Regions from separate parts of the Homo sapiens genome. Here regions 2, 3 and 4 are each linked to region 1. The links are contacts of gene promoters, found by promoter capture Hi-C in blood cells and fetal thymus (Javierre and others, 2016). All regions are on one chromosome and are shown on one strand. Each heading gives the region's core, a stretch centred on a gene start or on the middle of the fragment in contact. The rest is flanking DNA. Distances are from core to core; before and after follow the strand shown.

The links. The method cuts DNA at HindIII sites, captures the fragments that hold promoters and counts their contacts. A CHiCAGO score of 5 or more calls a contact.
Region 2: a contact is called between the fragment with the promoter of SLC71A1 here and the fragment with the promoter of GPR88 in region 1, in 1 of 17 cell types (monocytes). The highest score is 6.2, in monocytes.
Region 3: a contact is called between a fragment that was not itself captured here and the fragment with the promoter of GPR88 in region 1, in 6 of 17 cell types (megakaryocytes, M0 macrophages, M1 macrophages and 3 more). The highest score is 10.5, in megakaryocytes.
Region 4: a fragment that was not itself captured here is called in contact with the fragment with the promoter of GPR88 in region 1 in 1 of 17 cell types (M2 macrophages); the score reaches 5.6 in M2 macrophages.

Annotation. Positions count from the first base shown.
Region 1 is chr1:100,534,418-100,542,417 of GRCh38, reverse strand. It overlaps GPR88 (G protein-coupled receptor 88), which reads right to left and starts at 4,279. Exons shown (of 2, transcript NM_022049.3): 1 at 3,916-4,279; 2 at 397-3,524. The coding sequence starts at 3,451. The coding sequence ends at 2,297. RefSeq lists a silencer at 2,718-2,887 and enhancers at 2,157-3,005, 3,158-3,557, 3,006-3,855. The HindIII fragment of the contact is 8,214 bases long and covers 1-7,449 here.
Region 2 is chr1:100,034,448-100,042,447 of GRCh38, reverse strand. SLC71A1 (solute carrier family 71 member 1) reads right to left here and starts at 4,353. Exons shown (of 12, transcript NM_033055.3): 1 at 4,132-4,353. The coding sequence starts at 4,215. LOC124904230 (a long non-coding RNA gene) reads left to right here and starts at 4,440. Exons shown (of 7, transcript XR_007066251.1): 1 at 4,440-4,718. SLC35A3 (solute carrier family 35 member A3) reads right to left here. Exons shown (of 8, transcript NM_012243.3): 8 at 6,814-8,000. RefSeq lists silencers at 3,727-3,916, 4,377-4,556 and enhancers at 4,037-4,316, 4,279-4,881. The HindIII fragment of the contact is 6,938 bases long and covers 1-5,671 here.
Region 3 is chr1:100,845,018-100,853,017 of GRCh38, reverse strand. No RefSeq gene overlaps it. Among named protein-coding and RNA genes, the nearest start is that of EXTL2, 46 kb to the left of the region's middle. The HindIII fragment of the contact is 954 bases long and covers 3,609-4,562 here.
Region 4 is chr1:100,807,568-100,815,567 of GRCh38, reverse strand. No RefSeq gene overlaps it. Among named protein-coding and RNA genes, the nearest start is that of EXTL2, 83 kb to the left of the region's middle. The HindIII fragment of the contact is 2,337 bases long and covers 1,671-4,007 here.

The DNA.
Region 1 (8,000 bases), core at 3,030-5,529:
GCAGATGTTTATAGGAATAGCGGGGGAAGTCATTCACAGCCATTTACAGTGAGAAACAGAGATAAAGTTCTAATTAAAAGAAGACCTTTTTGACAGAGACTTAGAAAAGCATCCCCCCTCCAGCCCCACCCCAAAAGGAAAATTCTCAGCTCTCTGTTGTTGTAACTTATTCCCCAACACTTACAGAAAGGAAATTTTACCTATTTCTCTTTGATGCTGGTATGTGGGCCTTATTTAATTATATAAAGTAGAAATAACTGTACAAACTAAAATTAGATAAAGCCAGCAAGAAGAAGTTACTTTCATCACTAGTGCTTTGGAATACCATATCCTCTGTTACAACGTTCTCAAGGAGGTATGCAAGGAAACCAGAGACAGAAGAAAAAAAACTCAGAATAGTTGTCTGAACTTTAATATTTGAATCAAGGAAAATGTGAACAGATGAAACTGTTAGTAAGAGAGAAATGGTGCATGCACAAAAGGGATAGATTAATAAAATGACAGCTGATTGTTGGTGATGAACATATTTGTTTTCCTTAACATGTCCCAACTTCCATAATTATTCAGATGTACAACAAGTGGTCCTAATGTCCTGGCTGAAATTGCCCAGGCGTGCAACAAAGCAAGCTGGTTTTGTTCCTGAATTATGCAGTTAACTGAGGCTGTTTGGGCCCAGATTTGATGTGGTAAGTAGTCAGAATGCTGACATATGATTATTAAAAATTATTAAAATTACTTTCTTCCCATTTTAATTTGATAAGGTGATTTCACACAATTTTGCATTTCAAATATTTCTAAGTAAATTTAGTAAACCAAAGATGAATATGACAAATCTCAAATAATATGTTTTAGAACACTTTCCCATTTGAACTGTTCACTATATATGACTGAGTTTATTATACCTCCTTCAACATATACGATATTGATGTTAAATGTCATGGTAATATATATGAACTACATAAAAACAGTGTTGCTTTCTAACGTGTGGCTTGTTTAAACCCTAAAAGAGCACAGCTGGCTTTGCTGAGCCAAACCATATTATTGATCCGTCTTGACTGTGATTCCACTTGTGAGATAAAGTCCCAACTGGGAGCTTTCTCATAAATTGGGTCAAGACAGGAAGAACTCTAGGTAGCCAGAGGTGTCTCTGTGTCTCTTTTCAAATAATTGAAGGCCATTTCTTCTGGTGTCTGGAAGAAGTAAAATATCCTTGTCTAACGGGTATTGCTTCAGTATACCACATGCCCAATAAGTTCTAGCATCTAGGAGCATGCAATAGCAGCTAATATTAGCTATGCAGTCATGGTATTATTAGTGTTTAATTATATCATGTGCATTGAGATATTTTAAATGTTAAAGAGAAAACAGAAGGACTTATTCTTCTTAGCAACCATTATAGTACAGAATGTTCAAAGCTGCAATCACATTCATAAGGCAAATAAATTGGTTACAAAATGAGGGTAGCAACAAGTGTGCATGCTATAGAAAATGTGAAACGGTACCTAAAATAGATAATCACCTTATTTGTTTTCAAAATTCCAGTGCTGGCTCTGACCATCAATTATCAAACTGGAAAATTTTCACTATAACACTCAACGCCAATTTTCAGTCTTAAGAGTGCGAAAAAAAAGGAGCATAAAATAATTTTTTTTCTCACTGGCTAAGATTCTACCTCATTTGAGAAAGACTTTATTAAAAACCCTTTTAAGAATAAAGGGCTTGAGGTCTTAATGGCAACTCATACTGGTGGGCACACCTAGGGCTTCACTGCCCCAGGGTAATATACAAAAACTAAATGGTAAGAGAAGCATCATCAAAGACAGGTTACTTTCTAAAATACTTTCTACATATTGTTTTCCTTCTTCAATGTTATTTCCTTTGGTTCATGCACACTCAAGGCGCTTCATATATAAGACGATGAAAGTGGAAAGGGTTATACATTATGAAAGCTCTTTTTCAAAAACAAACTGTGTGGAAATAAATTAACCGGTTATTTTAAAACGCCAGTTTGCAAGTTCTTCAAGTCTCTGGTGTTTTGACTTTAGGATTCCTCTAAAACACAGAAACAAAGGGTAAAAATCAGGTGGCCGTCCAAAATGACTTCGGGCGCCCCACTTAAAGAGACGCCTTGGTTCAGGTAGCCCGCTGGGGTCGAAGGCCCCATTTTCCCCCGATCTATCGGGCTTCGCGGCGGAAGTCTTCGTTCAGGCAGGGGATGCCCTAGGAGGGAAGGAGGCGACGGTGCCCAAGGACGTCGGAAGCCGGGGATCTCCGCTTCCCTCGGGCCCCGGCTAGGTTACCAGTGCTGGCCCGCGGCGCGGGTGCCCAGTTGCGCCTGGGACACTGCGGGCACGGCTGTGGCGGCAACGGCAGCGGCCGCCGCGTCGCCGACGCCCGGCAGGACTGAGCGCACGGAGCGGCGGAACTCCTCGTTCCTCCACGTGTAGAGCAGCGGATTGAGCGCGGACAGGGCGCAGCACAGGAGCCAGCTGGCCGCCTGCACTCCCCAGGGCACCGGCAGCGAGAAGCCGCTGGCCAGGCTCACCCACACCAGTGGCTGCGTGGCCAGCAGGAAGACGCAGCAGAGCAGCAGCACCGACAGGCCGCTGAGACGCCGCTGTGCCCGCCGCGGGTGCAGCGCGGGCGGCAGGGGCTGGGCCTGCGCCGGGTGCGCGGCGCCACCGGGGCCCGGCGCGTGCTGGGCGCCCGGGAAGGCGGCGGCGGCGGCGGCGCAGCCGGGCAACTGGTGCAGCAGGTGGAAGTTGAGCACGCTGACCCGCTTGACGCTGACACGCACGCGGCGCACGATGCCCAGGTAGCAGTGCAGCAGCAGAGCTGTCTGCGCCAGCAGCGCCGCGGCGGCCAGCAGCGCCGGGTAGTGGACTCGCGGTGGCGCGGCGCCGGGCCGCGGTGCCCAGGGCGGGAGCAGCAGCACGAGGCCCAGGGCGAGCGCCCAGGACAGCGCCAGCATGCCCGCCGTGTGGCGCCTCTGGTACAGCGCCTGGTAGGTGGCGGGCGCCCGGGTGATGAGCAGGTAGCGGTTCAGGGCCACGAGGCAGTGGGAGAGGAGGGACACCGTGAGTCCGAGGCCCAGCAGCCCACCCCGTAGCAGGCGGTAGCTGCCCCCAGCGCCGTCCCAGTCTGCGGGGGGCTCCGCAGAGCCGGTGGGCAGGAGCCCGAGCACCGCCTCCTGCGGCATCCAGAGGGCGCAGACGCTGAGGTCGGCGGCGCAGCCGTTCACGATGAAGGCGTTGCTGGTGGTCTGCAGCTTTCGGAAGGACGACACGAGATAGATGACCATGCCGTTGGCCAGCGTGCCCCCGATGGCCAGGCCCGAATACAGGAGTGACACCGGGATGCGCCGGCCCGCCCACGACTCCTCTTCCTCGCAGAGCAGCAGCAGCGAGCCACCGGTGGTGGAGGAGGTGGATGTGGAGGAGGAGTTGGTCATTCTGGCCAACTCTTCACACCTCCCTCGCTAGCGTCGGCTTCTGGCAGCGCGGTCCATCCTGACACTGTCCTGCCTGCCAGAAGGGCAAAGACATCCCTTCAGCCCTCTGCCACTGACACAAAAGGCTGAAGCAGAATAATGGGCTGGGGGAGGGGGAGAAAGGGAGCTCGAGGAGGAGGACGGGGGTGGCAGATGACAGGTGCCTGCCTCGGAAATGTCTCCAGAGCCAGGGGAAAGGCCACTTTGCATTGGATTCAGCAGGTATCGGGGAAGCCCTAGGACAGAGCAATACCTAAAACAGTCTCCTCTTCTCCCCCAACACACACACACACACACAGAGAGAGAGAGAGAGAGAGAGAGAGAGAGAGAGAGAGAGATATGTTGCCAGCTGGAGGACCTAGTTCCAGGAGAAAGCAGAGATATCCCAGCTGGGGAAAATCCCATGGGAAAGAGGTGAAGGTTACCTTGCGTTTAGGCTGGTCCTTAGCCGGTGTCTCAGGGGGAGGGATGCCGGGAAATACCTCCTCAGCAACAGCATCAGTGGTCCAGAAATCAACAGGAGAAACTCAGCTGGGATCAGTGCCAGGAGCAAGTGCCCGCTTCTCCCAAGCAGCATCCACACACATGGTCCTGGGCAGGAACTAGCAGCTGCAGGGAGACTTCTCAGCTGGTATCAGGGCTGGAGAAAGTAAAGTGGCGGGCTGCAAGCCCAGGCGGGTGGGCAGGCAGGCAGCAGCAGCAAGAATGCTTGGCTGCAAAAGCAGAAGCTGAGCTCAAGAGGAGAGCACCCTGTGCTCAGAAGCAGGAGTGGTGGCTGATGTGGTGAACCCACTCGAAGCTCTCTCCTGCTTAGTTATACATCATCCAGGGAAAAGACAGCCTTTCCACGCTTGGCATGAATTATTCAATAGCTTCCAACTTGTAAAAGGAAGAAAAATATCTTGCTCAGAAAGTCCTGTCGTTAACAAGTTTCTCTGTCTTTTCTCTCTCCCAATCACCTTATTTTTCATCCTGTTTCATTTTTCTTTCCGTCCTTTTTTTCCCTCCCTTCAATATTAGAATAAAATTTAATATACCCTAGAGTATTTCATCTCAGTCTGATGCATTTTGTGGGCAAGATTTTTCTGTGAGATAAATATATTCCCAGTACCCAGGACTGATCTCTTTATTCCCACATTTTTTAACGAGAATTACTTTATGCACTACTTGAAATTCATTTTTCTTTGGTAAAGTGGAACATAGACAATTATCCACAGAAAATCTCCATTCCTCAATTTAAATCGTACTTTCAGTGTTTTCTCATCAACAAACTCCTTTCCGGAGTTTGTTTTGTGTTTTAGTAATGAAATGGTTAGAGGGTAAAAATGAAATGGGCAAAAGATTTAAAGCAGATGTCAGTGGTACATCTAGACAATGGAATATTATTCAGTGCTAAAAAGAAATGAGCTGTCCAGCCATGAAAAGACATGAAGGAACCTTAAGTGTGTATCACTAAGTGACAGAAGCCAACTGGAAAGGACTACATACTGTATGCTACCAACTATGACATTCTTGAGAAGGCAAAACTATGGAGACAGTTAAAAAGACCAGTGGTTGCCCGAGTTAGGGGGAAAGGAGGAATGAATAGATGATCACGGAAGATTCTTAGGACAGTGGAACTACTCTGTATGATACCATAATAGTGGATCTGTGTACTTATAAATTTGCCCAAAGTGGCAGAATGTGAAACATCAGTGTAAGCCATGGACTTTGGGGAATGATGTGTCAACGTACATTCAATTGTAACAGACGAACCACTCTGGTGGGGGATTTTGATAATGGGAGAGGCTATGTATGCGAGGGGCAGGGAGTACATGGGAAATCTCTGTATCTTTCACTCAAATTTGCCATGAATCTAAAATTGCTCTAAAAAAATAAAGTCAATTTTAAAAAAATGTGTGTCAGGGGGAAAGCAAGAAACCTGAATAATCCACAGTGTGAACAAAGATGACTTTTCACTTCAGAACTTTTTGTCTTGTCTGTCTTGGAGATTTGCAGTCTGATGTTGGCATCTTCTTTGGTGCAAGTGTTCATTTATCCATTCCATGTGGGAATTTTTTCAGAAAAGGAGTTCTCTCAATTATTCACTGGAAAAGTCATGTATTTGAAAATGTAACTCAATATGGGAATATGGTAACATGGCATAATAGAAAAAAATGTTAGGTGGGGTTGCAGCACACCCAGATACTAAGCCGAGCATCCATCATGTAGCCTTGCGATGGATTATTTTCATCTTGTCAAATAAGTTCACAGTCAGTCACTTCAAAGGCCCTTTCTGTTAAAACTTTCTGTGAATCCCTATTCATGAATTTAGCATTTCTTCTCTCTAATTATGACACATGGCATATACCTCTTCTATCTAACATGCATTGCAGTTGTAGTTCTGGGTCATATGTCCCTAAGAGCAATGTTTCAGGAGAGAGGTCAAAACACAGCTTCTCTGCTTTTCTTTTTCTATTTCAAAATCAATATGGTTAGTTGATGACTTCAAGAACTCTGATGAGGATTAAGGATAAGCATGACTTGATAGATTTGGTCCAGCTAAGCTATATCTGAATGAAATTGGTTGGGGCAGGGGCAGGGGCCGGAGGGGGAAGTGAAAGAAAAGAACCAGTGACTTGCTATTCAGAGGGTTGAAGGTTTCGATATCAAGTTTACTGATGTAAATGAGATGAGTATTTGTCATCATCTTTTTGCCTATTGCCATTTGTCCTTATTGAGGTTTTGAGTGCATTAAGCACAGCAAGCCTGCATTTCTCCTTTCTAGTTATGACACATGGCGTATACCTCTTCTCTGTAACATGCATTGTAGTTCTGGCCCATATGTCCAGGAGTCTTTTCCACTCTGTCCCTAAGAGCAATGTTTCAGGAGAAAGGAGACTCTCCTAATCATTCATAGTTAAAACTTGCCATTGAAGTAAAGTTTTTTCTCTCACATTAACATAGTCCTAAAGGACTCTCTGATAGAATGTGGTGGGAGGGTATTCAAATTCTGGATCCCTGGTCCCAGCTGCCACTTTGTGTTGCCTTTGAGACGAGCAGCATTCCTGCTGAGGGACTCCAGTGCCTGGCAGTCACACACACTTCCTCCAAGACCATGCCTCCCTTAGCGCTGGCCTGACAGGGGCCAAATTTTTGTTTGTTTCTGGATTTGGTTTTCCTTTTGTTTTAAGTTAATGAACTTACATAATATAGGGTGGGAATTTTTTCTATCTTATTTCCAGCACCAGGTCAGTGCCTGGGACATAGTAGAAACTTAATCAATACTTACTGAATTAATAAGTGAATGGCAGTGTAAATGATTTCATTTATGTTTTCTCCACGGTGAAACAGTAATTCACTTTTATGAGCATCTCTTTCCTCCCACCTTCAGCAGGAACTTGCCCCATCAGTCATCTGCTTTCTGCTGTCTCTTGTCAGTCTCTCTGCTCTCCACTGCTTGCTCCCCTTCAGACTTACAAAAATGCTGATTTCACCACAACCTCATAAAACTCCCCTGGAACTTCACCTCCTTCTCATGGTGCCTACACACAGCTCACTTCCCCTTCCTGATGGAAGTGCTCATTTTCTCCTTCTACTTCTGATTTTACCATTGAATACCCACCCACACGGCCCTTAGCTCTCCCTGCTCCACAGAAACAGCTTTGGCCAAGGTTAACAGTAGCCTCTCAGTAGCAAATCGTGACTCCTAAATCCTTGCCCTCTACTTTGACTCTGTGAAGAACACCCTCCTCCTCAGTGCCATTTCCCTCCAGGTTTCCCTTTGCTTCTGTTCCTCTGTCTGCTCCCTTCCAGACTCAGTCTCTGGCTCCCCAGTGTCATGGCTCCTTTAAGATAGTGTTCCTGGCTTCTCTTCTTGGTTCTCTTCTCACCCTACTCTCTCTCCCTAATTGATCTCATCTGATTCCTGCCTTCCACTCTCGCCTATGGGTCACCCACAGATTCTTTCCCACCAAGCTTACTTCTTTCCAGAGTTGCAGACGTGTTGGAACTCTCCATTCGGCTGGCCTCTCTCCCTCCTCATCCCACTCATTCTCCTATGGTCACTGATTTGGTTAATAGTCCCCATTGTTACCCTAGTGTTTCTAATAATTCACTATCAAATATGGTGTTTGTTATAGTTTTCTGATATATTGTTTATAAGTTAGAGACATTTCTATCTATTTCTAGTATGACTTTTATATGAAGTGAATTTTTTTTTAGCTGTTGATGTAGTAGGTTACATTTGATATATTTTTAAAAGTTGAATCATCTTTGCATTCCTCTGATAAACCCTGTTTGGTTACAATATATTATCCTTTTAAAGATAGACTGTAGGATTCTATTTGGTAGTATTTTATTTAAGAGTTTTGCATCATAAGTAAAGCCCACTTGGTTTATTTTTCTTGTGCCATCTTGTCCTTTCTTAGTGTCAAGGTTAAGATAAAATTCCCCCCAGGAGTTATTTCACCACTGCTACATCCACATCCACATTCCAGCCCACAGAGATGGAGAAAGATGAAGGGAGGGC
Region 2 (8,000 bases), core at 3,104-5,603, 500 kb after region 1:
CTTGGGTCCTGCTCTTGAAACGGTTGCTGACTCCTATTTAATTAAAATCAGGGATGCCAAGAAAAAAAAAATCTGGTGCTCTGCTTATCCAGGGATATGCATTTCATTTTCAAATGATATATCAATTTTACTTTTTTCAGGTACTTCCGACCATGCAATTCAGATATGCCTTACTTTCTATCAAATCTTTAAAGTCATTTTACCACAAACTTCTGAAAGAACTATACATTTTCCACTGTCAGAGATGTAGTTCCACAATTGTATGGCCAAAACAATAAAGATCATATTTTAAGATGAGCATTTTAAAAGATAAGGAAAATTCAATTTGAATACTGTAAATAACTCTTTAGCTCTTAGCCTCTAACAGGAATGCTTAAAAACAAGTGGTAATGCTTTAATAAAACAAAACAGAATTCTAGTATTTGAAAATGTCAGAAGGTATTTTTATTTCAGCTGTCTTAAATACCTACACTGAATGTTACATACATGAAAACCTGTAACTAAAAACTTCTTTTTTTTTTTTTTTGAGACAGTTTCACTCCATCACCCAGGCTGGAATGCAGTGGCGTGATCTAGGCTCACTGCAATCTTGGCCTCCCAGGTTCAAGTGATTCTCGTGCCTCGGCCTCCCGGGTAGCTGGGATTACAGGCACATACCACCACACCTAGCTCATTTTTGTAATTTTGGTAAAGATGGGGTTTCACCATGTTGGCCAGGCTAGTCTCAGACTCCTGGCCTCAAGTGATCTGCCCACACTGGCCTCCCAAAGTGCTGGGATTACAGGCGTGAGCCACTGCCCCTGGCCTAAAAACTATTTCTATATATGGATGCTTTAAAAGCAAATTCACTAATATGGTTACTTTCATCAGTGAAGTAGTATACAGTATATGATTAAATATTTACTGAATATAATATGTGGAACTTATTCTTTAGTTACTTATGCTGTTTTCAAACAGAACAATTGCTCTTAAACTTTTGGGAAGTATGGACCTTTTGGGACTCTTCCAAGAAACATGTATAGCCAAAAGAAAATTTTGCAAACAACTTCAGGGTGAACAGACCCAGGTTAAAAACACCTAATATAAAATCACACACCTTAATGTAATTTATCTTAATTGTGTCTACTCACATAGGTAGCCTACTTGTTAGCTTTATCCTGGCCTGTTTTTCATTCAGCTGAATGAAATACAATTCAATGAAATACAATTTCAATAAAAAAATCAGTAACTTACGATTAATCTGGCTCATTTAGAAGGATTTATTTCTTCAGCCGTTGAAAACTACAAATCTGCTCTAATCTGCTCTAATTTTCAGAAAAATCATTAACAACTCTTACTAGTTTTGTTTATAAATATTTAAACTGGCCAAATAGGCTTACATATATGTCATTAGCAGGACAACGGGAAAGAATTTTATTAACATTGTTGAAAAGAAGAAATCAGAAGGGGGATCAAATCAGTACCATTGACCAGGTATGTGAAATACTGTTCACGACTGTCATGTACCGACCATAGAGCCTCAGACATCTCACTGAATGAATCTACCCATTGGCGGAACTTTATAAAAACTCTGAAACTCTGAGGTCAACAGCAATAGCACTGAAATATTCTATGATACGATGAATTAAAAAACACACAACAACAGAGTATCAAATGGCAATTTTTTCCCCTTTCTTAAAAAATGTTCAGTCTGGGCACGGTGGCTCACACCTGTAATCCCTGCACTTTGGGAGGCCAAGGTGGGTGAATCATGAGGTCAGGAGTTCAAGACCAGCCTGACCAATATGGTGAAACTTTGTCTCTACTGAAAATATAAAAAATTAGCCAGGCATGGTGGCACGTGCCTGTAGTCCCAGCTACTCGGGAGGCTGAGGCAGGAGAATCACTTGAACCCAGGAGGCGGTGGTTACAGTGAGCCGAGATCCTGCCACTGCACTCCTCCAGCCTGGGCAACAGAGTGAGACTCCATCTCAAACAAACAAACAAAAAAAGTTCATAATAGTAGTCTGAACTATTGTAAGTAGAGAGGTAGATAAGCAACTACCATTTTACAATCATTTCTATGACTGCAATAGTTATACTTTTTAAATTTAAAGCTGGGATGGATTAAAATACAAATAATGCAAAATATTCCCCTGATATTTATTGAAATATATCCTCTGATTACGTATAAGAATAAACAAAATTACAATAAAAATTCATCTAGGAATGTGCTAGTACAAAATAGAAGTGTTTTTATCACTTTAAAATTCACATACTAGGCCCTGTGGGATCCAAACATACAAAACAAAGCCCCTTTTCTAAAGGAGTGCCCAGTGCTCTTAGAATAGAGAATGAAATATTAAGTGTATAAAGATGAGAAATGATAATAGCCCCCATGTTCACAGCCCTCAAGAAAAGTCTTCATTTGTTCTATGTGAAACCTATTGCTGGTGCAAACATTTTATTTTGTGTCCCAAAGCAGGCTAAGAATTAATTACAACCTTAATAATAGGACAAGAAAGTTTAAAAACGATCTTTTCCAAAACTCACAGGATTTGGAAAGAAAGCATCTGCTGTAAAGCAAATCAAACAAAACCCCAAAGAAAGGTAATAAAACTGAACTTTCCAAGGAAAAGGAAGCTGTGTTTCTTAATCAGTTTCATTCTTACATTTTGTAAAAAATACTGATCTTAAATATCACTTGGTCTTACAAAATACAATCTTTCATTGCCACTATTTTGTAGATTTTATGAAGAATGTAAAATATTGTCTCTTTCTAAAGGTAGACAAAGGCAACAGTATTTTTCTCCCCACATAGTTCTTACCTACTTGGTCAAAAGAGCTATGACTCTTCATAACCGATCTAATCAAAGTAATGTTTTAATTAATCAAGTTCAATAAAAAGAACTTGAGGAATTTGTTTCTTTTTTTCAATAAATGTCAAAGCTATAACATATAATAAACGTTAAACTAAAAATATATTCCAAAGTCATTACATATGTCTCAAGTTTTCTAAACTTTGGCATATTGACTGGGCCGTGTTCTGAAATGTCATAAAATTTTGTCACGTTTTTCAACTGAATTCAGCAAATCCTCAATGGTGGCCTACTTACACATTTACTACTGTGCTAGCAGTTGATCGCGGCTCCAATAAGATATAAACAGAAATGGAATTAATGGTACAATTTCTGCACACTTCAGGTAAGTGAAACATATATATCACCTTTCCATTCTATTTCAGAACGCGGTATCAGCGGATGCAACAAAGACCACACAGTGTAGCAACGGAGAAATGTTAGCATAAAACAGTTTTGTTTTGTTTTGTTTTTCAATTAAAAATCCTACGTCCCCAGCTGGTTAACTACACACTGCATAAAGTTTACTGTGATGACAACTGTTTCTAAAAAGCAAACCTTTCTTCCCTTCAAAGTGTCCTCCTCCGATCCTTAGGCCATGACTGATTCTAATACTTTTGATCTTAAGACACACAGTGATGACTTTTCTTTGAAAACTAGCAGGTTCGAATGTAGGCCCCAGGTGTCTGCCGTCATGCTTCCGACTCCGGGAAGTGAGGGAAGCCCATCTCCGGTCAGGGTTTACTGTAAGCAGCCCAGAGCCGGAGCACCGACGCAGAGAGACGTGGAAACAGAAAGCGAACGTACTACGGGGCCGCAGCGGGATCCCCGCGCCAGACGCCACCCCGTTAGCAACATATGGGAGAGCAGGGATGGTTCCCAGCCCCTTGACAAGCGCGGCGACGGCTCCGCGGGGCCTGGCGGCGAAGGCGAGGCGAGGCTGCGGCGACGAGGGGCGCGGCGGGCGGGCCGCCGGGGGAGCCCCGCACATTCCTCCCCGCGGCGGAGGCGCACGTGGGGTTCGAGGCCGCAGGGCCTGCAGAGGCGGCCAGAGCAGAGGGCGGCAGGTGCGGGAAAGAAAGAGGACGGGCCCCGGAGGCCGCAAGCCCGAGCAGCGGAGGACGATTCCCGGAGCGGCGGCATGCGGGTCCGCGACCCCGAGGCACCGGCAGCTCGGACAGGGTGGGGGAAGGGAGGGAGGCACCGGGACGCCTAGAGACGGCAGTGTGGGGGTCTGAAGGAGAGACCGGATGGGGGCCCCGAGGGACGCTCGCCGGCGCGGAACTCAGCTCACCGTGCCTCCGTCCTTAATGATGATCTTCTTGGCCAGCATGATACTGCGGTTCGCGGCCCGTTTCTTCTTCTTCCCCTGGGTCATTTTACCATCCTCGATTCCTGGCGCTGCTGCAGCCACTCCCGGGGCGGCAGGCCCCAGCAGCTAGTGCCGTCCCACCACTACTGCCGGGCCGAGCCGCTCTGGGCGCCCGCCGCCATCTTGAGGGCCCGGCCTGCCTCCGGCGGCGCGTCACAATCGTGCGATCAGCCGACGAGCGGGCCCCGCCCCTCCCGCGTGATACCGCCCCGCCCGCTCGCCGCCAGCCCACTCTACAGTAGCCGCGCGGCCAGGGTAACCGCGGGCTCGCGTGGGTGCTGCTGGCTACCTGTACAACTTCGTGCTCCGGCGTCACCAGCTAGCTAAATCCTCGCAACGGTTCTGGGCGATAGGGGCCGTTTTTGTCCCCCTTCTTCAGCAGATGAGGGAATTTGTTTCAAAAAGTTGTTACCTGCTCACGGAAACAGACGTCCTAAGCTATTAACACAATCTCCAGCTGTGTTCTAACCAAGACAGGAACCGAAGGGAACAGTAAAAAATCATTTTCCGTAAGTAATGGGTAACTTAAGAGATAATGTAGTGTTTCAGAAACAGTCTTGTCCTTTTGGTGTTCAGGGACCCCCGCTAGAACTCAGCTGGCTCACGCTTGTTTACCTCCCTAGACCCAGGACCTTTTTTATTCCCTGCCAAAAAAAATACCTTACCTGACCGATGTCACCCTTTGTGGCCCTCTACGTTTTTACTGTATTGTTTAAAAATAAATTTGATGGGAACATTGCTAGAAAGGGCAATTTACACAAGTGGAAGTGGACTTTAAAGTATCACAATGTTAAAATTAGATATTGATAACTACCGTGTTGTATAATAGAATATCCTTTTCCTTAAGAGAAAAACACGAGGGATAGGGATACACCGCATGCTCCCTACTCTCAGATGGTTAGGGAGTAACATGTATGTGTATGTATATGTAGGTGGGGAAAAGAGAGGGACAAAGCAAAATGGCGAATGTTTAAAAGTACTGAAACTAGGTATGGTAGTTCTAAGATATGTTCACAGATTCAATGATATTCCTCCCTGGAAGAGGTGGACTCTAATTCCCCTCCCCTTGAGTGTAGACTAGGCTTAGTGACTCTTGATAGATCAAAACAGAAGTGACAGTATTGACTTCAGAGGCTAGGTCATAAAAGGCACTGCATCTTCCTTTGCGGGTCTCTTTTTCATTCATTTTGGGGCTTGGAGCCTGGGGAAGCCTGCTTCCGTGTTTTCAGGACACTCAAGCAGCCTATGGAGAGATCCAGTTGTCCAGGAACTGTTTGTAGCCTCCTACCAAATGCCACGGAGTGAGTCACTTTGGAAGTAGATCCTCCAACCTTGGTCAAGCCTTTGGCTGACTACAACTTCATGAGAGACCCAGAGGTAGGACCACCTAGCTTAGCCACTCCTGGAATCCTGACTCAGAAACAGTGTAAGATGAAAAGTACTTGGTGTAAGCCACTAAGCTTTGGGGTTATTTGTTACACAGCTATAAATAACTAATATATAGGGTAAAAGGAAAAACAGTAAATGAATGTATGAGTTCTTTGTACTGTTTTTGCAACTTTTCTGTAAGTTTGAAATTATTTCCAAATAAAATGTTAAAAAGTAAATTTGATTGAATTTCCTTTTCCTTGTATTTTCATACTGACTAAAAATGGAAAAAAAAACTAATTTCCATGGAAGGGAGAAGAAAAGCAATTTATAGCCTGATAGATACTTCTAATTATATTTTCCAATCAATAAGTATATTCATTATACTTGTTTTGAAACATATATTCTCATTTTGAAACTTTTTTTATTATTTATTTTTTGAGACAGAGTTTTGCTCTTGTTGCCCAGGCTGCAGTGCAATAGTGCCAACTTGGCTCACTGCAACTTCCAGCTCCCAGGTTCAAGTGATTCTCCTGCCTCAGCCTCCCGAGTAGCTGGGATTACAGGTCCCCACTACCATGCCTGGCTAATTTTTTTTGTATTTTTAGTAGAGATGGAATTTCACCGTGTTGGCCAGGCTTGAACTCCTTACCTGAGGTGATGTTCCCGCCCCAGCCTCCCAAAGTGCTGGGATTACAGGTGTGAGCCACCATGCGTGGCCTATTATTATTTTCTGAGGCAGGGTCTCACTCTGTCACCCAGGCTGGAGTGCAGTGGTGCCATCATGGCCTCCTGCAGCCTCTTCCGAAACGATCCTTCTGCCTCAGCGTCTCAAGTATCTGGGACTACAAATGCACACCACCATGCCTGGCTAATTTTAATTTTTCTTTTGTAAAGACAGAGTCTGGTTATGTTGACCAGGCTGGTTTCAAACCTGGCCTCAAGAGATACTCAGTTCTACCAAAGTGCTGGGATTACAGGTTTGAGCCACCGCGCCTCGCCTGCAACTTTTTAGTTGACACCCAACTTGAAGTTCTTTAGAGAAAGTAATATGATAGATTTCATAATTCAATTCCCAGGAGCTTGTTTTGAATGGAAGTAGAGGGCTGATAATTTATTGTGTGGTTACTTTGATTTTCATAGTCCCTCAAAATCATACTTCATCTAGCTATACCAATTTTATCAGCCTTATGAACTGGTTATTGTTCAGTCATTCAAAAAATATTTACTGGGTGCTTGTGTTGTCAGTGTTTTATTAGATGCCAGGGATACATCAATAAATGAGACACTATCTGCACAGAGCTTACATTCTAGTGGGGGACACAGTTACAAAACAAAAGGAAGGTAATTGCAGATTGCAGTAAATACTGTTGGAAATAATGTAGTAAGAGAAATTTAACACATACTAAATGTCCAGAATGTCCCAGGCTTTGTGCTAGAAAGGCTGCAATGATAAACAAGAGAGAACAGTCCTGTTCTAATAGGCCTATTGTGTATGAACTTGTCGCTTTGTATGTGATTTGGGTTGTGAATACAGCTGGCCCTCAGTATCCTGTGGATTCAACTATCCTCAGAATAAAAATATTTTTTAAATCCCACAAAACAACAAAAATACAAGTAAAAAATACAGTATGACTACACAGCATTACATTGTATTAAGTACTATAAATAATCTAGAGATGATGTATGGGGAGGATGATAACCAAATACTATGCCATTTTATGTAAGGGACTTTAGCATCCACTGATTTGGATATCCACGGAAGTCCCACAACCAATTCCCACTCCCCTCCTCATATGGAGGGATGACCGTATTCACAAACTTTGCGCTAAGAGACTGATATCTCAGTTAGGGTTTTTTGGTTAGGATCAACAGAAACTAACACTGGCTAACAAACTAGTACTCGCTAACGTAAGCAAAAGGGAATTATTTGGAAGGATATTGGAAGTTTTGAAAATTAATGAGAAGGCCAAGAATCAGGCTTAGAAACAAGCAGAAACCAATGTTTGGAAAGTTCATGAAAACAGTTCATGAGGCACCTTGAAAGGGAGTGGGATTCCTTGGAAAGAAAGGCAAGTGGCCAAAAGTAAAAGATTCCTAAAGAAACAAGATTGTATCACAGAATCCAAATCCCACCCCCACCATGCACAATTTATTAAAGAAACTGCACTTCACCATGCTAACAGAAGAGGGTCCTCTTTAACTAAAAACTGAGTAAGTCACCCACATCCCTTCTACCCTCCATTCTATAGAGCCACCTGTTATTGCTGATTGAAGAAGATCCTACACATTTAATCATGAATAGAAAAGCCACCAAAAATCCATACAAGGCTATTATAAAAAACAGAAAATGAAAACTTTTCAATCAATAGAAAATACTACCCTCTAGACAATATGAAGCAGAGGCAAATAATATACAACAC
Region 3 (8,000 bases), core at 2,836-5,335, 310 kb before region 1:
ACTCATTTTAAATGGATTAGTGAATATGTATGCAAAGTCCTTGAATATATTATAATTAAAGCTAGACTAGTGAATTTGGCTATGTTCCAATTGTTATTGTTTTATTTACTGTTATTTTATAACATTTGAAAAACATTTTTCAAGTATTTTTTTCCTAATATGTTTGGTTATATGTATAAGAAAATATATTTAACTATTTATTATAATTAACATAATTCTCATTACAAGATCATATCGAATCGGTTCAAAATAAATTACTCAGTGAATGCCAATTGCTAGAACTGATCTATTCAGTCTTGTGTTGGGACCTACAATACTCTTGTCTCATGAACAGCATAAAATGGCCTTAGGTAACCACAACAGTCAGTTTTCAGGCATCGGAATGATCACGCACACACACGCACATTTTAAAGGTACACCAAATCAATATAGTTTATTTTATTATTTTATAAGCTGGGGCAGAAAACATATCTTGTGCTTTTCTGTATGCCTCAGAGAGCCTAATGCAGGTCTATGAAGATAGTTGATGCTCCATGCTTGGATAACTGACTGAAAGTGAGTGAGGGCATCAGTAATACACCTAGAAACTGCAGCCTGGTGCTTGGGTTCACATCCTGGCTCCATTATTCTTGAGCTGTGTGACTCTGAGCAAATGACATAAACTCTCTGCGCCCCGGTTTCTCAGGTGTTCACTGAGTAATAATAATTATACTTACTTCATAGGATTTTTTGTGAGCATTAAATGAATTGATACATATAAGTATTTAAAATATTACCTAACATATAATAAATATTCAATTTGTATCAGCTATTATCATTTGGAATAGATGGGCTAAGATGGAGCACTTTTCTTTAATACGTTGAATACACATCTTTTCAAAGCTATTCCTCCAAAGTGATCCGCACAGAATGGCTGCGGAATGAAGTTTCTTGCTGCTGTGAACATTAATGAACATTCAAGTTTTGGTTCAGTTCTAGACATCAATAAATGCCAGTTTTCCTTTTCTTTTCTTCCGTGCCCTACCATGTTCTTTACCCCATGTCTCTGTCTGATAGTTGTTATTCTTATTACTGTGTTATGACTAAGTTTTTGGCATTGCTAATCCCACATCTTTGATCTCAAAACATTTATTATTCTTTGGACCTTTCATCTTCGTTTACAAAAAACCCAAAAACTTGACTCTTTGTAACTACATAAGCCTGAATTTAAACCTTGGCTCTACCACATAACCTCTTCAGTCTTTATTTACTCATCTACAAAGCGGAAGAATTAAATCTATTTACAGGGTTGTTGACAGCATTAGGGCAAGTTTATGTTATTGTGGGTGCCCATCACAATGCCTGGCACATAGTGGATAATCAAAACATAGCAATTCCTTCTCTCCATGAACTGATTTTTCTCATTTTTAACTTTCTGCATTATTTCTTTAAAAAACTGAGATAAAATTTTAATTTAATTTAATGTAATTGACTTTTAATCCATCTTTTCCACAACATTTCAAATTTTTATTTTCCAAAAGAAGTTAAAATCGTTTTGAATCCTCCAGCCTCTTTAAAGTACTGTCCTAGGGCCTACATGGAATACGAGACTCTATAAAACATCACTTTCTCCTCTCAAAATAAACCTGTAATTTACTGGTAGTTTTAATTTTCATGTAAATTACTATTTGGGAGCATTAACCATCAAATTTCTTATGTATATTCTATAGTGAGTATGAAGTTCTTGGGTCATAAGTATGAGCATTTAAGAACATAATTTTATTTTTATGTAACAACTTGGTTTTGATTTTAAGATCTTTTTTTTCCCCAGTAGCAGATAAAATAATTAGATCAGTTCTGGGTAAACTCAGTTGTTAGGGTCTTCTCTCCTCTCTGATGTGAAATTTAATTTCCAGGAGCTTTTGGCATGGTGGTTTCTGATGGGGGTGATGGAAGGATAACTGGCTCATGCTTGCATCTGTCCTTCATATTGGCTCCCATGAAGATGTTCTAGCCCATGGAGACTTGCACAAACCTTCCTGATGGCATCTGCAGAGGTGTCCCTGTTCCCACCTGCACCATAGTGGTGTGGTCCCTACTGCTTCCCCCTCATCAGGGAGTCCCCTCATTATGACCATGAGCCCCTTGCCAATTCTCTGGCTAGTTTCTGCACCCCTTTTGAAAAGCAAGAAAATTAATTCCTCTCATACACCACTATTGGCTCTTAGGAAGCTCAGTAAGGTGACCTTGGGCTTTAGGTGCCCACACCCACATACACAACCACATCTGCTACTAAGCCTGTTCCATGACGGTAGACGGAATTTCTGGAGACAAGGTTGTCTTCAAAAATTCCCCATGATCTTACTATTCAAAGAGTGGACCATGGATTATCTGCATTAGGATCAACTGGGAATGTGCAGACTCCTGGGCCACATTTCAGAACTACTCAATTAAAAGTGTATTTTAATAAAATCCTCAGGTAATTTTTATGCACATTGAAATTTGCAAAGCACTGATCGGAGATACAGCATAGAGTTTCAATTTACCCTCAGAACCTTGACTTCATCTAAGGATTCTATTGCTCTCATCTCCCCGAGGGGCTAATTACTGAGGGAGAGGTATGGGGAAGTAGGGTCTGGTGATCTTTTCTAAGAGAGTTTTGTCAATGTCTTAACAATCTTGTTTCCCATCTCCACTATATCCCTTTTCTTCTCTTAGTCCAGATAAAGGTTTAAGTTATTTTCTTCTGAGAGAGGAAAATGCTCCAGCAAGTATTTGATTTAATCTTTCTATCACATAGGTGGGCATTTTAAACTGAAAAGCCAAGAATGTGTTATATTTATTTTCTGATTGTGCTGTAATTCCCTCTCCTTCCCTTCTTCCTCACATCTCTGCTTGGGCCATTGGAACAATTCAGTTTAGTTGCCTGGATAGGGGAGGTTCAGGGTCAAGGTAATATAGGAGAAAGCAATTAATACTTGTCCATATCATCTCATGGGGATAAGGATTTTATTTAGGTTTTAAAATATTTTAGACTCAAATGGATTTATGTTTTCTAGAAAGCCAAACTACATTTCTGAAACTGTAGTTCATTCTGTCATATTGAAAGTCCTTCTATAAGGCTGTGTTTTCTGAAAATGGGCTTTGCTCATAGAATTTTTGTGTGTAGATAGTGAATATTGGGCAAGTAGACTGATAGAAAGGACTTAAGCCTCTTCTGTCTTCAACAGTCCAGTTTGGTGCAATAGTTGATGTTTCAGATAGGTCTTCTTTGACTCTTTAAGAGTGAGCTATGCTCACTTTGAGTTCCAGGTATTTACTTCGATGTTAGCATTTAACACTTTGGTCACTGTATCCCTTATTAGACTACAAGATTACTGAGGACAAGGATCAGAGTCTCTTTCACTGTTTCATCCCCAATGCCTAGCCCAGTTCCTGGCTCATAGGAAAAACAAACCTGCTTGGATGAATAAATGAGCAAATTTATTGGTATTATTCAAAATTTTCCTCACTGAGCCTCAATACATGAGAGGGAGAAAATAAATATATAAAGTGTCATGGAAGTCTTTTAGTCCAATCACTGACTCAAAGTAAGAATCCTATATATAGAATCTCTACAGAGTCAAGCTTTTGCTAAAATATTTCCAGAAGAGGGAATATACTTAGGTTTTTTCCATTTATGGATCATTCACATTTTTAGAAAGTTCTTTCTTTATTGAATCAAAATCTGCCTCCTTAATTCTGTCTGCCCTTTGGAGTTTTATAGATTTCCATTTCTATAGTATAATTCTCCAAGTTTGCTAAAAAGACACAAGTTCAAAAAGATTTAAAATGTAGTAAGGATGGCTCATCTTGCACAGAAATCACCAACAGCTGGAACATCTGCTTTCTCCCTGATAAAATAAATAGGCTTTGCTTTGAATTTAGGTATTTATGGAACTGTCAGAAATGGAAAGGGAGAGGAATATGTGGGTTTGGCTACCACATTCAAGGAGGGAGAATTACCTTGATTTTTAGCCTTTGATGTGAGAGCAGCATCGTTTAGGTGCTTTATGATATCTGTCATATAACACAATATGGGGATTCATTTCTGGTTGTGGTATTTTACATTTGAAAATGCTCATCAAAATTTCTCTATGTGCCCTTGTTCTATGCCCATATAGCTACTCCCTACTGTCATTATCACTCCAAATTCTACATTTGAAAGACCAGAATTACCTCCTCCTCTTAACCAACTGTTTCTACCAACTACTCTATCACTGGCACTATTATTCTCCCAAGAGCAAAAAATACGTGGTTCATTTATCCTGCTCATCCCCACATCCTCTCAGCTACATAGTCGTGAGCATTTCTCACCTGTAGTGTTTCTTACATTTACTTCTTCCTCTCCAGTAATGATGAGGAGGCTCTCATTGCTACATGATTCATTTGCTGCTTCCCTTTCTCACTCCTGCTCCTATCCTGTTTTCGTGAAGAAGACATAGCACAGCTACATTATTTTTTTCTTGAATTCCATTGTCATCAATCTTTCACCTAATTTAAAATCCCAAACATATGGATGACCTGGTACATCAGTCTAAGCTTCTCTACTTCCATCTCAAGGTCCTCCTTCAACCCCAAAACCCTTAACTCTCAAATTGTCCAGGCTCATGTTAGCTACTGCACCACCCCATACAACCCACCCCAAACTCCAAGCCCACTCCAGTTGGTACCCTCTTTCCTTGCAACCCATCTGCACCCCAACTCATCCACAGCTGTGCTACATTTGCATTTGTATTGATCTGCTCTCTCTTCTGTGCCAATTCTTAAGTTATATTTTCCCCACAAGTTTTTATTCCAGTTATTCCAGGCCTTATTCTTCTCCTTCTCTTTCTATCACTTAACATTTTTATTGTGAATTATGATTTTAAAACAGGTAAATAAAACATGTGCACAGTTTTAAAACAGGTTGTGAAAAGAATACCCATGTAACTACCACTCAGATAGGAAGGAGAGTATTCTGGGAACCCAGTACATTTTACAGTACTAATAGTCTGTACCTCATAATTTAGTACTTATGGTAATTAAGTATCATCTTGCCTTGTCTTATGGCTTAAATGTGCCATTGTATTCCTCCTACTCTATTGTAGGCTATTGAAAGGCAAGGGCTCTACAGATTATTCTTTAGAATATCCCACAGTGTCTCAAACTGTGCTAAGTAAATACTACATATTCAAGAGATGCTTGTTCATTGATTACAGACTAGGAAAAAGCAACACTTAGTACAAACAATATGTATGTTTATGTCCAAAAACTAACATTGTTATATCTTTCAAACACATGTTAATCTTTAGGAAATAGCACAGTTCTAACGTCTTAGCTTCTTTTTTTCCCACATATTGTCCTCCTTGGTTTCGGTTTTCTTTTCTTTATATGGCATTCAGCTTTCCTGGTGATTTCTCAGGGAATTTCCAGTTTTACAAAGCAGAATATAAAAGAATGCCTTGATAATAAATAGAAGTCCCTGGCAACACAGTAGAAACACCAATGATTGCCTGTCTTAATTCAGTTAAAGAACTGCTATAATCACAAAGCAGTCTTCTCTCTTCCACTGCACAATTCTCTCATGAAAAGAAACTCTGCATTGCATCCAAAGGTCTTTAGCAAATGTTAATAACATTCCACATATTGGAGGTTTTATCACACAGGACCTCCAGCAAAGATTCCATAACAGCAATAGGAAGAAAAATATACATATATATATATATATATATATATACACACACACTCTAAATATATATACTAAGGAAATAGTAAACCTAAGAAATGCACATTTGAAAAAAAAAAAAAAACTAATCCCTGAAGGAGTTCTCAGTGCAGGACATTTGACTTAAGGAATTGTGCATTGTAAATTACATTAAAAATGTATAAAATATGCTGATAGTGATATACAGCAAAACAGCATACATATTACAAGACAACAAAGAACTCTAATGTTTGGTCAGATCTATGAATCCCTGAGATGTTGGGTTAAGTAAGTATTCCTTACATAGGAGAATCTGTGATTCAGCAGCAGAAAGAAGGAAATCTATTCTTTTGTCCTATCTTACAGTTTCTATGACTGAGGCAAAATTCATTATATTAAAGAAGCATTTCTTGTTCCAGCTAATTATAATCAGACAGTGGAGAAAAGCAGAAAGAAAACTTACATTATCAAAATGGATATATTTACAAGAGCTTAGTTCATGCATAGAGCATTAACTAAGGCCACAAGTGAAATAGCTGTATTAGGTAAGGTAGTAAACCACCAAAAATGGTATCTGACAATCATGGTGTTCAATCAGTTAAGCAACTAAGCCTAACTGTCAAGCTTCAGATATGAGGAAATGGACAAAACTATTTGGAAGGCTTATATTTTTATTAATTTAGTTAACAAATATTTATTGAGTGCCTACCATGTGCCAGATCCTTTTATAGTTACTTGGGATATATCAGTGAACAAAATAGACAAAAGCCTTTGCTCTTATGTAGCTGACATTCTAGTGAGGATATGCTGATGGCCCTTCATGTTGTGTGATATGCCGTTTTTATGAATTTCAAAACCAAAAAAATACATTGCTGATTTTGTGGTGAAACCATAGAAAGACTAAAAGTAAACATAAGCCTCAAGATAGTGGTTAACGCCTGGGAGAAAGAGGGTAATAGGATCAGGGAGGAACAAACAGGTAGCTTCAACGATATTGGTGATAGTAAATTTCTGAGGTTGGGTAATGGATTAACAGGTGTTTATTTTATTATTTTACTTTTTAAGCTAGCACAAGTTATATAATTTCTTTTGCACATATAAAATATTACATCATGAAGTATTTTTATATTAAAATAGGAATGTTTTTAAAAAGAGCAAGTGGACAGGGCATGGAACAAGGGAGATAGCCCATGTAATTTAAAATGGCCGAGAAAGTGGCTGGCAAGATGGCCGAATAGGAAAAGCTCTGGTCTGCAGCTCACAGTGTGATCAACGCAGAAGGTGGGTGATTTCTGCATTTCCAACTGAGGTACCTGGCTCATCTCACTGGGACTGGTTAGACAGTGGGTGCAGCACAAGGAGGGCCAGCCAAAGCAGGGTGGGGTGCCTCACCCAGGAAGTGCAAGGGGTTGGGAAACTCCCTCCCCTAGCCAAGGGAAGCCATGAAGGACCATGCTGTAAGGGATGGTGCTATCCAGCCCAGATACTATGCTTTTCCCATGGTCTTTGCAACCCACAGACCAGGAAATTCTCTTGGGTGCCTATGCCACCAGGGCCCTGGGTTTCAAGCACAAAACTGGGCGGCCATTTGGGCACACACTGAGCTAGCTGCAGGAGTTTTTCTCATACCCCAGTGGCACCTGGAATGCCACCAAGACAGAACTGTTCACTCCCCTGGAAAGAGGGCTAAAGCCAGGGAGCCAAGTGGTCTAGCTCAGCGGATCCCACCCCCAGGGAGCCCAGCAAGCTAAGATCCACTGGCTTGAAATTCTCGCTGCCAACACAGCAGTCTGAAGTCGACCTGGGATGTTGGAGGTTGGTGGGGGAGGTGCGTCAGCCATTACTGAGGCTTGAGTAGGCGGTTTTCCCCTCGCAGTGTAAATAAAGCCACAGGGAAGTTTGGACTGGGTGATGCCCACCACAGCTCTGCAAAGCTGCTGTAGCCAGACTGCCTCTCTAGATTCTTCCTCTCTGGGCAGGGCATCTCTGAAAGAAAGGCAACAGGCCCAGTCAGGGGCTTATAGATAAAACTCCCATCTCCCTGGGCCAGAGCACCTGGGGGGAAGGGGTGGCTGTGGGTGCAGCTTCAGTAGACTTAAATGTTCCTGCTTGCTGACTCTGAGGAGAGCAGCGGATCTGCCAGCACAGTACTCAAGCTCTGCTAAGGGACAGACTGCCTCCTCAAGTGGGTCCCTGGTTTGCATGCCTCCTGACTGGGAGACACCTCCCAGCAGGAGTTGACCAATACCTCATACAGGAGAGCTCTGGCTGTCACCTGGCGGGTGCCCCTCTGGAA
Region 4 (8,000 bases), core at 1,590-4,089, 270 kb before region 1:
TGAATCCATCTGGTCCTGGACTTTTTTTTGTTGGTAATTTTTAAATTACCATTTCAATCTTGCTGCTTGTTATTGGCCTGTTCAGAGTATCTAATTCTTCCTGATTTCAGCTAGGAGGGTTGTGTCTTTCCAGGAATTTATCCATCTCTTCTAGGCTTTCTAGTTTATGTGCACAAAGTTGTTCATAGTAGCCTCGAATGATCTTTTGTATTTCTGTGGTGTCAATTGGAATATCTTCCACTTCACTTCTTATTGAGCTTATTCGGATTTTCTCTCTTCTTTTCTTGGTTAATCTTGCTAATGGTCTACCAATTTTGTTTATCTTTTCAAAGAACCAAATTTTTGTTTCATTTATCTTTTGTATTTTTTGTTTGTTTGTTTGTTTCACTTTCATTTAGTTCTGCTCTGATCTTGGTTATTTCCTTTCTTCAGCTGTGTTTGGGTTTGGTTTGTTCCTGTTTCTCTAGTTCCTTGAGGTACGACCTTAGATTGTCTCTTTGTGCTCTTTCAGACTGTTTGACGTAGGCATTTAGGGCTATGAACTTTAGCACCACTTTTGCTGTATCCCAGAGGTTTTGATAGGTTGTGTCACTATTGTCATTCAGTTCAAACAATTTTTTAATTTCCATCTTGATTTTATTTTTAACCCAATGATCATTCAGGGGCAAGCTGTTTAATTTCTATGTATTTGCATGATTTTGAAGGTTCCTTTTGGAGTTGATTTCCAGTTTTATTCCACTGTGCTCTGAAAGAGCGCTTTCTAATTTCAATTTTCTTAAATGTATTGAGGGTCATTGTGTGGCCTATCATATAGTCTATCTTGGAGAAAGTTCCAGGCACTGTTGGATAGACTGTATATTCTGAGGTTGTGGGATGGAATTTTCTGTATATATCTATTAAGTCCATTTGTTCCAGGGTATAGTTTAAATTTATTGTTTCTTTGTTGACTTTCTGTCTTGATGACCTGTCCAGAGCTGTCAGTGCAGTACTGAAGTCCACTACTCTTATTGTTCTGCTGTCTGTCTCATTTCTTAGTCTAGTAGTAATTGTTTCATAAATTTGGAAGATTCAGTGTTAGGTGCATATATGTTTAGGATTGTGATATTTTCCTGTTGGACAAGGCCTTTTATCATTACATAATGCCCCTCTTTGTCTTTTATCACTGCTATATATTTAACTGTTTTAAGGTTTGTTTTGTCTGTTATAAGAATAGCTACCCCTACTCACTTTTGGTGTCCATTTGCACAAAATGTCTTTTCCATCCCTTTACCTTAAGTTTATGTGAGTCCTTATGTGTTAGGTGAGTCTCTTGGAGGCAGCGGATAGTTGCTTGGTGAATTCTTATCCATTCTGCAATTCTGTATCTTTTAATTGGAACATTTAGGCCGTTTACATTCATTGTTAGTATTGAGATATGAGGCACTATTCCATTCATTGTGCTATTTGTTGCCTGTATACCTTGGCTTTTTGTTTTGCTTTTTAAATTGTATTTTTGTTTTATGGGTCCTGTAAGATTTATGCTTTAAAGAGTTTCTGTTTTGATGTGTTTCCAGGATTTGTTTCAAAATTTAGTGCTCCTTTTAGCAGTTCTTGTGGTGGTAGCTTTGTAGTGGTGAATTCTGTCAGCATTTGTCTGAAAAAGACTGTATCTTTCCTTCATATATGAAGCTTAGTTTCACTGGATACAGAATTCTTGGCTGATAATTGCTTTGTTTAAGGAGGCTGAAGATACGGCCCCAATCCCTTTTAGTTTGTGGGGTTTCTGCTGAGAAATCTGCTCTTAATCTGATAGGTTTTCCTTTATAGGTTACCGGTGCATTTGTCTCACAGCTCTTAAGATTCTTTGCTTCATCTTAACTTTAGAAAACCTGATGACAATGTGCCTAGGCAATGATTTTTTTGCAATGAATTTCCCAGGTGTTCTTCATGGTTCTTGTATTTGGGTGTCTAGGTCTCTAGCAAGGACACCATGGACTATGTCCTTCTGATATTCTCTCTTGCTTCAGCTTCCACAGCACCATCTTCTTCTGATTTTGCTCTTAACTCTCTCTTCACACATTTTCAGTCCTTTTTTTTTTTTTTTTAAATAAACTCTTCATCTTCTATATGTCTTTAAAATGTTAGTCTTCCCTATTCTTGGGCCTTATCTCTTACAACTCCACATACCTTTATTCCACTGCTCCTTTATTTACCATATTCCTGGTTTTGATACCTTCTGAGCACTAGACCTGCATTCTTCAGCTATTTTTTGGATTTTCTATTTTAATATATCGAAAATGCCTCATATTGTATTTCCTAAAATATCTTGCTTTGTTTTCTCCACCTTGATCAATGATACCTTTCTCCACATTTGTGCCTAAGCTAGATATCTGGGACTCATTGCTGATTTCATTTTCTGGCAGTTTCCATGAACACTTTGTCTTTCTACCCATCCTCTACCCCTTATTTTCTCCATGTCCTTTTGCTCCTCTGCAGTATTACTGCCACCCTTTAGTTTAGAGCTTCTTTCATCTTGACTAGGCTCTTATCTGGTTGCTTTGCCTCTGGCCTTCCCTTCTTCCAACACCAATAATTGTCTGCCTTCTCTTTACAAATATATATCTGATTATGCCATTCCCCTGCTTAAAACTCCATTGTTATCTAAATGTATAGCATTCCCTTCCTGAACAGGCATTTGGAGATTCTAAAGAAGTAAATTCTGCTTTTTCCATTACTCAAAGTTCTACAAAAAAAGTTGGAGCTGAAAAATTTTGAAATGTTAATTATTTAATAAATTACTTTATCAATCAATTTACTGAAAGCTATTGAGCATTTGTTATGTGCCCAGCTATGTATTAGATGATACTATATCCATTTTATCTCAGAATATGATACAAATTTTAAAAAATTTTTCTTATCTTGTTATTTATAAGTTATATAAATATCTCTTATCCACTACTGGACTGCACGATTGATCTTCTATTGCCAGTCATGAGCAGCTGAGAAGTAATAAAATAAATAACTTTAAAGATTTAGCAAATCCACCTCTATTGTCAGTAATTGAAGAGAAAAAAAGTAATGGCTGTGATCTCTAAGTTGCATGAAAAGGACATAAAGTAATCTCCAGAAATCAAGTGGTCTGCTTTACAAATGAGTGATCATGTTTATATTTTAGTGCCAAATGTCTACTTATTCCCTTGAATAAATTGTGTTTTCTTCAAATACATAAATACTACATATATTTTCATGTTCTAAACTATGAATGGGAAAATCAGCACAGAACACAGTTTCAGAGTCATCACAGAACAAGAAACTTCTTTGATGCTGTAAATATAAACTCTTCTGTATTTCTACCATACTAGAAGAATCATCTCTTTTTGAAGCCTATTTAGCAATAAAATCCCTCTTCTCATTTCATCCTATTAGAAGCCTCCAAAGAGCACTTAGGGAAATTCTCACTCCCATACATGAACGGAGATCCATCTATACTGAATCACTGAAATTCCATCAAACTGTACAAAATATCTCTGACATTACAAGGCTAGAATAGAGCTATGAGTGTTCAACCCTTAGTGACAGACTGATTACTGCCTGCACATTTCTGGAATAGAGTCATAGCCTATATTCCTACAAATACCCAATAATTTAAGTAGTTAAATCTATGAGCTCTTTTCTGAAGGTTTGTCCTGAAAGTCCCTTTTGTGTCAGAAATCTGTTTAAAAGCCATGCTTTCTACTCCTTGTTCTGTTGTTATAGCAACCATCATACTTTAGGTATATGGAAAGAAAGGAACATCACCTAACCAATAACATTCAATTGTCATGACACTTGCTATGTTAATTACAAAAAGGCAAACCAATTTCTCACTGCAGAAGCATAAATTCAGGATTGAACTATGCATTCAGATCCCATTTGACATATATGTATAATGGTGATAGTTGTAGTGGTAGTGAGGGGTAATAGAATCAGAGAAGGGGGATTAGAAAAGAAAAAAGAAAATAATATTAGACACTTATGTAAAATAAGCTTTAAAAAGTGTGAAAAAGTTCGAATGCAATGTTTATTATACTATCCATGCATTGAAATACTAACGCTAAAGTGGCCAGCTCCTGTGAAAGTATAAAATATGAGGTCTGTGATTTACCTATCCAGTAAAAAAGCTTACCACCTATGTGCATTTTTTGGATTGAAAGACGTATCTATAAAATATCCTTAATATTATTATATCCTTAAAATCCTATTTTGGTGGGTTGTTCCACTAAAGCTAGGAGAATCATCATGTAGAACCCTAGGGTTCTAGAAAAAGTTCATGCCATCAGCCAAGAAGAATTATAAACAATTCAGAAAACAACTCCAGGCATGCTACCAGGCACACTGGTAGAGACAGAGGGCCTGACTGGGAGGCAACAAGTAACCATGTGTCCAGAGCTGCTTATCATAAGTTGAGTTTTGTCAGATTCACAAAGTCATAAGATTTGGTGGGTCTAGCACCAGTATTCATTTAAGATGGAAATGCTGTATCTGGAAGCAGTCATGAGTAGGCCAGAGGACAAAAGTAGCTGCATGAACAAGTGCCACAGATTCACATATCACTGAACACTGCTGCCTGGGCTGTCATCCTTAGCTTGTATGTATAGCCACAAGAGTGGAGATTCCTTTATGACACCTGGTGGAAGAGGAAAAAAGCCACCCTTAGTTGATGGATAGAGTAGCTCAGTGTGTGGGTGCAAGCCAAAGAAGACTGCTGCTGCATTGCAGTCCCACTGAGGTATGGCCCTAAAATTCAGCAGTAAGGAGATATCCTCACAATGGACAGAGGTTTGTGGAGTGTGTTCTTTTCTTTGTGTAGAAGAAGTGCCTCAAAATAAGGATATACTGACGTTCATGGGTAATGGTGAACGGCTTCGCTGAATATTTAGAAGCTGGAAAGAGAAATACTTAAAGATCAGGGATAAGAAATTCTGGAAAAGAAACATATGAATAACCTCCAACTTGACAGAATGACTCAGCCGTTACATTATCCAGCCTCTGTCATCAGCCACTCCTGTGCTAGCACAATGGGTTCATGAATGGAGTAGGCATGTTGACAGTGCCAAAGGATATGAAGGGATTATGTGGGATCCCATTCACTAAAGCTAATTTTGCTACTGCTGCTGTCAGATATCAGATCTGCCAGGAGCTGGGTCCACATACAGCTTAATTCCTTGATGAGACCAGCCAGGCCCTTGGAATCAACTTGGAAGTAACGGGATCAATTGGAAGGTGATGACAGTCTCTTTTAGGAGCTCATTCCAGACCAAGTTATTATGCTGGGTTTATACTTAGAAGTTTTAATTTCCATTTTGATAGACAGATGTTAGATAAATTTATTTTAATATTCCCTATTAAAAATTAATTTTTGGCTTGACAGTCTATACCAAATAAAATGTTGCTGAATCTTGCTCACTAAAATGGAAACGGTTCCAGAATGAAATCAGTCATCAATCATTCCTCAGCATGAATAACTCATTTTGGTTAGATCTGGGTATTAATAAAACGAAAGTTAAAGTACCCAGTCTTTTTTAAAAATTTTATTTTAAGAAGGCATATTTTATTTTTAGAATATTTCTGTAGCAGAAAGTATCTGGTACAGGCCATTCAACTGCTGGTTGCTGTTCAAATTTCTAGTCAAATTGGTAAAGTGGGTAGAAATTGCTTTTGTATTTCCTCCTTCTTCCAGTCCCAAGTTACGGAACTCCTTGATATTATTCCTTGGGGACCCATATATCTGATGTTGAACTCAAACTGGGTCAGTGACGCTGCTGTTTTTAAGTTTAGCCAACTAATAGCAGTGTGGAATGATAGAACCAGATTTTAGATATATTGGACATGGAAAAGGTGTTTGTTGAATGAATATAAATATAAATGAATAATTTTATAAAACAGAAGTTTTTTTATAGGAACTTCAGAAAATATTTAAGAATCATGTATGTCCCATAGCCTCGATGCCCTATTAATTATCAGTTATCCTTTTACCTCCTGAAGATGTTCAATCCGTCCACTTCTCTCTGGCTCCACAGCCACCAACCTTGTCTACATCACTATCATCTACTGCTTGCAACACTGCTAATGGGTCTTATGCTCCTGCAATGTATTCTCTACAGGGCAGCTTACATGATATTAAAGTAAAAACCCGATTACTTCATATCACTGCTTAAAACATTTTAATGGCTGCTCATTGCTGTAAGAATAAAAACTGAAATACTCAGAGCCTTGACAGCCTCTAGTTTTGCCCATCTCTCTGGCAGAACTGTTTCTAGAGTTCTATTAGGGATAGTAATCTAGAAAGTGCGGCCAGGAGACTTCTCTGAAGGCTATGTTTAAGCAGGAAAAACAGTCTACCTTTACTAAGCATTTATGTTTATGTGTAGCTTGGGAGCTAATGGCACCCCTTGGAACACCCCTGCTTTCCAGCCTCACTTCTTCCCACTGCTCTGCATCCCCACTGTGCTTCCTCATTGCTGGCTTTTTTTTTTCCGGTCTTAGAATGTCCCAAGCTCCTACCATCTCAGGGACTTTTTATTCGCTGCTCTTTTTTCATTGAGATGGAGTCACGCTCCCTCACCCAGGCTGGAGTGCAGTGGTGCGATCTCTGCTTACTGCAACCTCCACCTCCCGGGTTCAAGTGATTCTCCTGCTTCAGCCTCCCAAGTAGCTGAGGTTACACACATGCCACCACACCTGGCTAATTTTTATATTTTTAGTAGAGATGCGGTTTCACCATGTTGGCCAGGTTGGTCTCGAACTCCTGACCTCAGGTGATCCACTCACCTCGGCTTCCCAAAGTGCTGGGATTACAGGTGTGAGCCGTGACCACACCTGGCCTATTTGCTGCTCTTTCTATCTGGAGTCATTTTATTGTTCTAAATACTACTCATCCTTCAATTCTCAGCTTACATGTCATTTCCTCAGGGGAGATTTTCTTGACCTTGGACTAGGGTGGCTCCTCCATCATAGGCTCTGTTTTTCAGATGGGAAGCATGGTCTCTCCCATTAGACCAAGTTTGTCCAAAGCGTGGCCCGTGGGCTGCATGTGGCCCAGACAGCTTTGAATGCAGTGAAACACAAGTCTGTAAACTTTCTTAAAACCATTATGAGATTTTTTTGTGTGATTTTTTTAAAGCTCATCAGCTATTGTTAGTGTTAACATATTTTATGTGTGGCCCAAGACAATTCCTCTTCTTCCAACATGGCCAAGGGAAGCCAAAAGATTGGACACCCCTGCATTAAACCATAGCTTTGGGGAGGCAGGGGCAATGTTTATCATCACTGCGGTATTCCTAGTGCCCAGTCCAGTGACTGTTTCACTCCATGTACGGTTTGTTGAATGAACAAATTGCATTGCATTTAAAAGAGATCTTAATGATAATGAAATTGGGTCATAGGACTGTTTCTTGTGTTGCTTATGGTCTTGTAGTTAATTAACAGTTATATTAAAACTGGAATGCTACAAAGAACTCTGATTCTGTCTGAACAAACTCAAGGTATTTGCCAGGTTCCCTCTTATCAATGAGTAAGGCTGAAGTCTCAAGTAGTTCCTCAAAGTTTTAACCAAGCTCTTCCTTTTTGTTTGCCTTTATATTGTTTTTCCTTTCTCTGAGGTTAATTCTCTCTCCCTCCACCAGACACTTTCAGAATGACTCTTTACTTGGATTTTTTTGTTTAGTTTCAAATACTTTGATTTGCCCCACACTATCTTTCAGTGTTCTTTGTCACACATTCTGTAACTCTTGGAGTAGCCTGTCTCACCTCTCACACCTAAGCCCAGCTCCGGAACCAAGTCCTTGCACAGTACCCCAGGCTCTGCTTTTTCTATACAGTAGTCCCCCCTTATCTGCGCTTTCCCTTCCTGTGATTTCAGTTACCCACAGTCAACTGAAATCCAAAAACAAGTGAGTATATTACAATAAGGTATTTTGAGAGAGAGAGAGATCACTTGCACATAACTGTTATTACAGTATATTGTTATAATTGATCTATTT